Regions from separate parts of the Homo sapiens genome. Here all the other regions are linked to region 1. Evidence: promoter capture Hi-C in 16 types of primary human blood cells and fetal thymus (Javierre and others, 2016). All regions are on one chromosome and are shown on one strand. The core of a region is centred on a gene start or on the middle of the fragment in contact, and the rest is flanking DNA. Distances in the headings are between cores, read along the strand shown.

Evidence for each region. The method cuts DNA at HindIII sites, captures the fragments that hold promoters and counts their contacts. A CHiCAGO score of 5 or more calls a contact.
Region 2: a fragment that was not itself captured here is called in contact with the fragment with the promoter of FRMPD4 in region 1 in 1 of 17 cell types (naive B cells); the score reaches 5.0 in naive B cells.
Region 3: a fragment that was not itself captured here is called in contact with the fragment with the promoter of FRMPD4 in region 1 in 1 of 17 cell types (total B cells); the score reaches 5.5 in total B cells.

What each region holds. Positions count from the first base shown.
Region 1 is chrX:12,137,129-12,139,934 of GRCh38, forward strand. It overlaps FRMPD4 (FERM and PDZ domain containing 4), which reads left to right and starts at 1,345. Exons shown (of 17, transcript NM_001368397.1): 1 at 1,345-1,884. The coding sequence starts at 1,844. The HindIII fragment of the contact is 1,954 bases long and covers 1-1,874 here.
Region 2 is chrX:12,644,635-12,647,440 of GRCh38, forward strand. All of the region lies in intron 4 of FRMPD4 (FERM and PDZ domain containing 4), which reads left to right. Among named protein-coding and RNA genes, the nearest start is that of PRPS2, 150 kb to the right of the region's middle. The HindIII fragment of the contact is 198 bases long and covers 1,268-1,465 here.
Region 3 is chrX:12,571,224-12,574,029 of GRCh38, forward strand. The region is part of intron 2 of FRMPD4 (FERM and PDZ domain containing 4); the gene reads left to right. Among named protein-coding and RNA genes, the nearest start is that of FRMPD4-AS1, 200 kb to the left of the region's middle. The HindIII fragment of the contact is 329 bases long and covers 1,245-1,573 here.

The DNA.
Region 1 (2,806 bases), core at 95-2,594:
TCTCGCCCCTTCCGATCCTTGAGTAGTAACTGCGTTCATGCAATTAAACTAGCCTGTTTAATAGAAGCTGCAGGAAAACTGATAACTATGTATTCAAAAACATGTAATTTTATGCCTGAGTTTTAAGTCATTTAGATTTTGCAGATTGCTATTTATTTTATGTTCAGTTTTTGAAATAAATGCTTAAAAAAAACGCTTTAGTACTAGGCTTGAATACTGAAGACTTTAAATATAACAACAGACCAGGAGAGGAGCAGAAGTGTGGGAACTTTAAACCTATTTCTTTCTTAATCCCCTCGGAGAGCTAGACTGGAACACTGGCTGGATCTTCCAACATTTCTGGGGGTGCTCTCTGTTCTTTGCGGTGGCCCTGCCGCCAGGTGAACGCTGCCGGTGGGAGAGCACACACTTAGTGCGGCCAGCTGACCTTCACAGTCTGGGGGGAAATTTTAAAGGATTGTGGAGAAGAGGCCTTGAGACTTCAAGAGGAAGAAGAAAAAGGGGCCCAATGAAGCCTGAGCCTCCCAGGAGGTAGAACTGAGTTAATGAACAGGGCTGATTATCCAAGGTAATTATGTAAAAGAGAAGGCTAGGAGGAGTTCTAGATGGCTGCAACTTGGAGTTTACTCTGCCTAAGGTGAGTGTTTATGTTTCTGTGTTTTTGCTTCTCCGGCAAGGTTTTGTTTTGTTTTGTTTTTTTCTTCCCTGTTCCCTTCACCCAAGGCTCAGTGTGCAAAAGCAGCTCGCTCTGCGTGGCAGACCCCATTCTAATCCTTCTCTTTCCTTAGATTCTGAGCCCGGTTAGAATTAGCCTCCGCATCACGGGCTCCTGGGACCCTCCGCTCTATGCTCCTCGAGGAGGGAGCAGCTGTGTTCATCCCCCTACCCGCAAATGCCTCCGGTTCTTATTTGGCAGACACTCCCGCGGTGCTGCTGTCCAAAGACACACCTTCCCAGCCAGCCCAGTGGTCACGTCTCGCCCCAGCGATTCGGGAGAAGCAGTGGGAACTCTGAGCTCCCCGAATCGAGCCCGCTGCGCCTGGCATCTCCCTTCCCTTCCCCTTGACAAACGACCCAACCTCAATCATCCCTGCTCCTTCCGAACGCTAGTTTTGTTTACGGAGCAAACCGAGGCTTTGAGCAACCTGCGGTTGCACGGCTCTCCTTCGGCTTGGGGAGGGAGGGGTAGCGTTCACAGTTCTCCAGTGTGCCATAGACTGTTAGACCAGATCCTTCAGATCTAGAGGCACACGCAGTGGGTGACAGGAGAGTGCCCCCTCCCCCCGGGCGGGTGGGGGTGGGGAGAGGAGCAGGGACTCGGCTTGGAGAAGGAGGCAGGGAGGCAGCTGCAGTGCTGCGAGGGGTGCGTGCGCGTGTGCCCAGCTCGCCTGCCGTCTCCCGGCTCCGTCTGCGCTCCTCGGTGCGTGGGGCACGAGGGTCCGAGGGCCGGGAAGCCAGAGCAGCGCCTCTCGCCCAGGCCTCGCTTTCTCTGGACGCCCGGCAGTCCCCGGGGCTAGAGCGCACGGGGCGGGGCGCGAGACCCGGGCCGCGCTCCCCGCCCCCGCCTCTTGCGCCCTGCCTGGCTCCCTCTCCATTGAGTTTTCCTGCCTCGGGTGCCTATCAATGGTCCTGCTCGGGGATGCACACGCAGCTCGCGGCCGGAGGGGGGTAGCAGCCGCCGCCTCCAGGTGCAGGTTCTCTCCGGCCGCCGCCGCCACCCGCTGTCGCCGCGACTCGAGCCCCGGGCGCACTGAGGTCTTGGCCATGGGGCTGCGGAGGCTGCTGTTGCTGGCGTGAGAAGGGGCGACGGAGTTGTCGCGCTCGGGGGTCCCCAGCTGCCTGCATGGATGTCTTCAGCTTTGTGAAGATTGCAAAGCTTTCGAGGTAGGGGCTGCGCGGGTTCCGTTTGCACCCAGGGCCGCTGCCGCGGGCAACTTGGTGCCTTATTTTTCGGGAGGCTGGGTAGAGGCAAAAGCTGGAAAGCGCGACGGGGCTTAAGACAAACGAAGTGGCCGGGGGCTTCCACGTTCAACTTATTTCTCACTGGCTGCTGAGGCTTGTGTAGCGGCGGGTGTAGACCACACACAGAGAGGTACATACATGCCCTCACCAACACACCGACATTCACGACAGTTTGTTTTCCCTAAGGAAAAGCCCCAGCGGTGTTTGGGGTCCCATGTATAATTCAGGGCTAAGAGAAGATGGTTGTAATTGCTACTGCTAGGGAAACCCAGAAGTGCTTGGAGCTTGGGTGCCTGCCTTCCAAGCTGCAAAGACCAAAAGTGCCGCCTTCCCCCAACTCCTAAATTACACCTCCACACCTCCACAAAGTCAGCTCCTAGATTGACCAGGTGCTCCCAACGGTAACCTAGATGGCGAAGTCATGTAGATAGAAGAGAAAGACTTTCAGCCTTTTTTTTTTTGGGGGGGGGGTAACTATATTCTTAAGCCTCGAAAGATTTAGAAATTTTCTTCTAAGTGGCCATGTTGTTAAAACAGTAGCTAAAACTAAATCATCGATTCAGACATTTTTGGGTAGTACTGATAAAAGAGGAACATTTCCACGCTTGGGCCGCCTAGGTGTTGCCTGGCCAGAGCACTCCTCCAGGTCTTCTGCCCTGCTTATGCTTCCAAAGTCTTCGTTTGAGCCACAGAGTAAGGTTTGTGCTGCTTGCTATGTGGCATTAATTGGGAAGAGCCCAATAGGAGTGGTCTTAGAAAACCATGCCCAACCTTCTCTGCCCCTGGAGCTCTTTATAGCAGCTACCACCAGGACGTAGGAGGTAGACAGTTGGGTTTTTCCAGG
Region 2 (2,806 bases), core at 117-2,616, 510 kb after region 1:
CCACTACTCTGCCCAGGCTGAATGGAATGTCAAGCTCTAGGCCACCCCAACACAAGTCTCCTTAAGCAGCAGACCCAGCCCAGGTTGGAATCTGGCATAACTTGGAAGCTGAAAGATGACCTAACTAGCCACATTTCAAATTCAAGCTGAAAGTACCACTCACATTTAATCAGTTTCTGGAGATCTATATGGAAGCCTTTTATTTCCACTTCTTTAAATGAACAGCAGTTCATTTACCTGGAGAAACTGCATGTGAATAACAGCAAAGCAAGTCGAGAGTGAGTTATTAACTATGCAAACTGACTACTTAACCTGTTCTTTTCAGACTTCCCCTAACAGTTTTATTGAGGATATGCTTAAAAACATATTTAGATGATACATTGCATGAGTTTCAAAGAGACCATTAAGGTCTCATTTGGGCAGAGAAAAATGAATTTTTAAAGGAACCATTAATGTGTGTTTTTATAATTGTGTCTTATGGTATTTTTAATATTGCTACCATTTATCAAATATGAAAAATAAGACTTTACAATATTATCAAAATAATATTCATACGGTAGTAGTCTCATACCCATTAAATATTATCTGCTAATCCTTTACCATTGTTCCTAACATATTATGATTCATTCAGATCTCATTAGATTTTATTTCATACTGCTTTTCATGCATAGTATCTCATACTATGCATCAGGTAGTTTTTAACACTCTCACTCTTTTTTTTTTTTTTTTTTTTTTTTTGAGATGGAGTCTCACTCTCGTTGCCTAGGCTGGAGTGTAATGGCACAATCTCAGCTCACCACAACCTTCACCTCCCGGGTTCAAGTGATTCTCCTGCCTCAGCCTCCCGAGTAGCTGGGATTGGAGGCATGCACCACCACGCCCGACTAATTTTGTATTTTTAGTAGAGACAGGGTTTCTCCATGTTGGTCAGGCTAGTCTCGAGCTTCCGACCTCAGGTGATCTGCCCACCTCAGCCTCCCAAAGTGCTGGGATTACAGGCGTGAGCCACCGCACCTGGCCAAAACTCTCACTCTTTAATGCAATTTTTATTTGCCTTTTCTTATCCCCTTACCTCCCTATAGGACATTTTTCCTCTCTTACCTAGTTGAAAATTAATCTTCCTCGGACATTAAGGAAACTCAAGAAAAAAATACTTAGTTTAAGAAACAAAAATTTGCTCATATTTGTAAATAGATTTTCGCATGCATTTTGGTTTGCACCCTTTTCAATTCTGAAACTCTGAACTCTAGTTTTGGACATGAGATTAAGCTTCCATTTGATGGCAGGAGTGAAAAATACAGGAACATTAAAAACGGAAATCACGATCTCCACCAACCCTGTTCTTCATAGCCTTGAGAGTAGAAAGAGTAAAAGGCAAAGATAGTGTTAAACTCCAATCTGTTATTATTTTAGAGGATAGATAAGGAATTAGTCTAAGCTATGTTCTCAGGTTCTGTAGGAAGGAAGCTTTTCCACTAATTCTGTTTTTCTTGCTTTTCCTTTGTTTCTAACCCCAATGGATACATACTTTTGAAAAGTAATCTTTATATAATGTTTCATGTAGTAATTGAATAGCTTGTATGAGTGAAACATTTTTCTTTTTTATATAGCCAGCCCAAATGCAGACTGTAAGTCCTATTAATATAAAACAGAAAGGTCTCAAAATTCAGTTGCAGGGTTAGTGTGCCCCAAGTTCATCTTCAAAGCAGTATTTCCCAATAGACAGGAAAATGAGATTTCTCTCTGCTTTGCCATGGATAAAGTATCACTATTGATCAATTTATAAATAATTTTTCTAGGTTGAGGCTAAATTCAAACATGGGAGGCACACTTCAGAAATTTAGTATAAATCCCCTAACCTCTTTCCCTCAGAGAAAATTTTATCATGGTTCACTGAAAATCTGTCAACTTTCAGAGAGGATTGGAACATTGCTAGGTTTTCTGAGATTTGAGGTGCCATTTCAAAATAGCTGTGTTTGAACTATGTACCTATCGTTCCTTAACCTAATTTTTACCTGCAGTAAGAAGGTATATTCCATCCTGTAGCTGTTTATAAACAGTCTCTGCAAACATTGTCTTCGAATTGAAGCTTCTTCGGGGATATCATCTCTATTCCTTGCCAACATTAAAAATAGTATTTCTCTGTTTACATTTGTCTCCTCTTCCCTTCTATGTATACGAAAGTTACCAACTGGAAAAATAGTTTATGGTCTTTACCATTGCCTTATTGTTAATATTCAAATACATGTTCAATCCTGGTAAAGCTCTATATTGTTCCAATTCTGATACATCTAAATTGGGAGGTAGTGGCTATGACCACTAACCCCTAGGAACAACTGGGAGCCCCAGCTCCTTCTGGCTCCAGGATAACGTTATACATAGGCTCCCCTTAGTTAATTTCACCTGAATCTCTCACCTTTTTATTCTTGAACCGCTCAAAATGTGAGGCCTCAGGACACAGATTTCCTCTGGCACCTGCTTCTCTGTGACACCTGGTTCTTCCTTCTCCATGACTTAACACGTTCCCTATGACTAATTGATCTTAGTTTTGGTTCCTTCACAAGCCAACTCTGACACAAGGATTTGTGTGTGTATAGATAATCTAGGGCGTGATCCCAGGAAACACCAGCCAGAGACTAGAGATGTGAGACCAAAAAGGAAGACAACCAATAAAATGTAAGTTATCAAACCAATTGCCACTGTGGGCAACTGGAGCTTCATCCTCTTGGGGAGTTCCAGGATCAGTGTAGAAAACATGCCTTGGAGTTATTCAGTTGAGTGGTGAGGGAGTGGAGGTATTTATACT
Region 3 (2,806 bases), core at 159-2,658, 430 kb after region 1:
ATCACAACAATAAAATTCTTATTAACTCACATATAAAACATATTATGGTATTTGCAGCTAGGTGTTGCTATGGCAACAGTTAAAAAAATTTTTTTAAACATTTGTCACACTAAATGAAGTATGGGATGTACTTTTTTGTTAACTGTGAATTTACATGACCTGCAACACGACAATGGCTTAATGGGAGCTAAACAAAGGGTGCAGTTTCCCCTCCCTCTTCCTGCCTGTTTCCCCTTTCTCCTAGGAGCCATTTCAGGCTTTCTATCTTGATTAACTGTGTCTTAGTAATTGGAGCTTACAGCTCAGAACAGTAATTCTGTCCCATAATTGTAGATGTTAAATTTTAATTCTACTCTGTAATTGGCAATAATCAGGCCATGTTCTGGCTTTTCTGGAGTGCTCAATTAGAGGCCTGTGGCCTCCTCTTTCTTCCCCTTCCAGCAAAGCATCTATTCTTGACTCATCCCCATCTGAATGATTGTGTCTATAGTTAAAAGATATGATAAATATTCTTAGATTTGGAAGACTTTGAAAAGGAGTATCCTAATTACTATTGTTCACTTGATTGAAAATTTCCCAGCTCTAAAGCTACATTCTGTTAAACATGGGGTCACTGAAGCTTTCATTTGCTTCAAAAAAAGGTCATTTTATGTGGTCAGCAGCTAACAGTATAAAATAATAGTAATTTTATTTCTATTTCTTTTAAACAAAGAGAACTTTTTCTAAATTAAAGAAAACAGAAAAGGAAAACATAAGATTAATTGGGTTTTCACTTAGCATATTTCTGAAGCAATTTGCCTTCCCTTAAAAAGACAGTTTCTCCAAGTGTGTTATTATTCAAAATACTCCTACCCAAAGGTTTCCCTAAGAAAGGAGCCCCTGTTTTTAAAATGCCCTGCATTATATACCGCTTTGGGAGGTTTGCAGTATGTTCTAGACATTTAAGACCTCTGATGATTCCTGCAATAACAAACGCTATTTGGTTTACTTTTAACTTTTCAAAGCTTAGATTAACCCATTGCTTCCCAGATAACTGTAAGACACTGCTTTCTTGTGACTTACATTGAACTGTGCTTATAATTCACTCACCCATTTTTAAGTCCAGAGCTTCTACTGTATAAACATATTAAGGTAATCATGTTAGGGTTCTAAAAATTCCTGAAAATGCATAATTAAAGGGGAAATGATTAAGTTCCTTTTTAAGAAAGCAAAATAAATGCTGCCTTTAGAAAAAGACATGCTAAAGCTTGTAAGATTAAAATTAAAAATAAAATCATTTTTTAATAGCAGAGTTTCTCAGCCATGGCTCTATTGACATTTGAAGCCAGATGCTTTTTGTTATGGGGGTGTCTATCTTATGCACTGTAGGATGCTAGGCAGCATTTCTGGCTTCTACCCATTACATGCAGTAAGGGAGGGAAAAATGGCTTCCCTCCACCCTTCTACATTCTTTGACTATACTACGAACTAAACTGACATAAGACAGATTAATAGGAGAAAAAAATAGGTAATTATGTACATACGCACAGGAGTCCCACAAAATATGAGAGTCTAAGAAGAGCCAGGTAATTGAAGCTTATATAGCATCCTGAGCTACAGAAAGGAATAGTGGCTTGGGGCTTCTCTGGGGAGGTGGCATCAAGTCATGGGCAGGTGAGAGGAAGAAATGTGTGGTGAATGAAGCTTGTCTTGCTGTACAAATAAAAAGTCTCTCAGGTATAAAACTTGTCTCTAAGCAGCCCTCTTTCTGACACAGATACTTTGACTAATGTAGATTTCCTTTATAGATGTAATTTTTTACAAAATTTTTACCAAAGGACAGTTTCATCATAGCGACTCTTATGTCTGCAGTTTTTCAGAATAGCCAGCTCTAAATATGCTAAAGAAGTATATTTAAGGGTGACATATTCTGATCTCCTATAGTCATTTTTTGAGTTGATGTATCCTGAGCCCCAATAGTTCTTAACGTAATTGAGGGGCAAGTCCAAGAAATTTTCAAAGAGAACACTGATCAAGTGCTTTGGCTTTGTACCTTTAAAGCACAACAGAGCTCTGCCTGTCTTATTAAAAAGGACTTAAAAAGGAAATTTGACTTTTATTCTTAGGTCACTGGTTAATAGCTGCTCAAAAACTCTTCTAGTTTGAAAACTCTCAGAACAAAATGAAGGATAAAAAAGTAGACCAGACCTATGTAGAAGGAATCTTAGAGTGAAGTGGGTAGACCAGCATGCCAGAGACTTCCTCAGAGACCAAGTCCCCAAAACTGTGATTGCTTCTTAAAGACTAAATTCATTTACAGTGGTAATATGGAGCCATGGAGGAAAATTTCACTTTTCAAGACACTTTTTCCCTGACTCCAGTCCCAGTACATATTCTCTTGCGTTTATAAGTTTGTCACTTAACGGGGGTCCATATAGTCTTAACTCCCTGGTTGAGAGACATACTAGAGCAGTGATTCTCAAAGTGTGATCTAGGGACCTCTGGGAATACTGAAGATCCATTCAGGAGATCCAGAATGTCAAAACTATTTTCACAATACAAAGATGTTAGTTGTCCTTTTCACTCACATTCTGTCACAAGTACACAATGGCGTTTTTTGGATGTGTGATCTCACAAGAGACTGAATGCAGAAGCAGATATGAAAATCCAGCTATCTTCTATTGAGCCAGACATTAAAGATTTTTTTTTTAATGTAAAGCAGTGCCACTCTTCTAAATTTTGTTTTGGAACATATATTTTATAAATATGTTGCTTATGTTAAAATATAATGAGTTTATTTATTTTTATTTATTTTTTTGAGACAGTC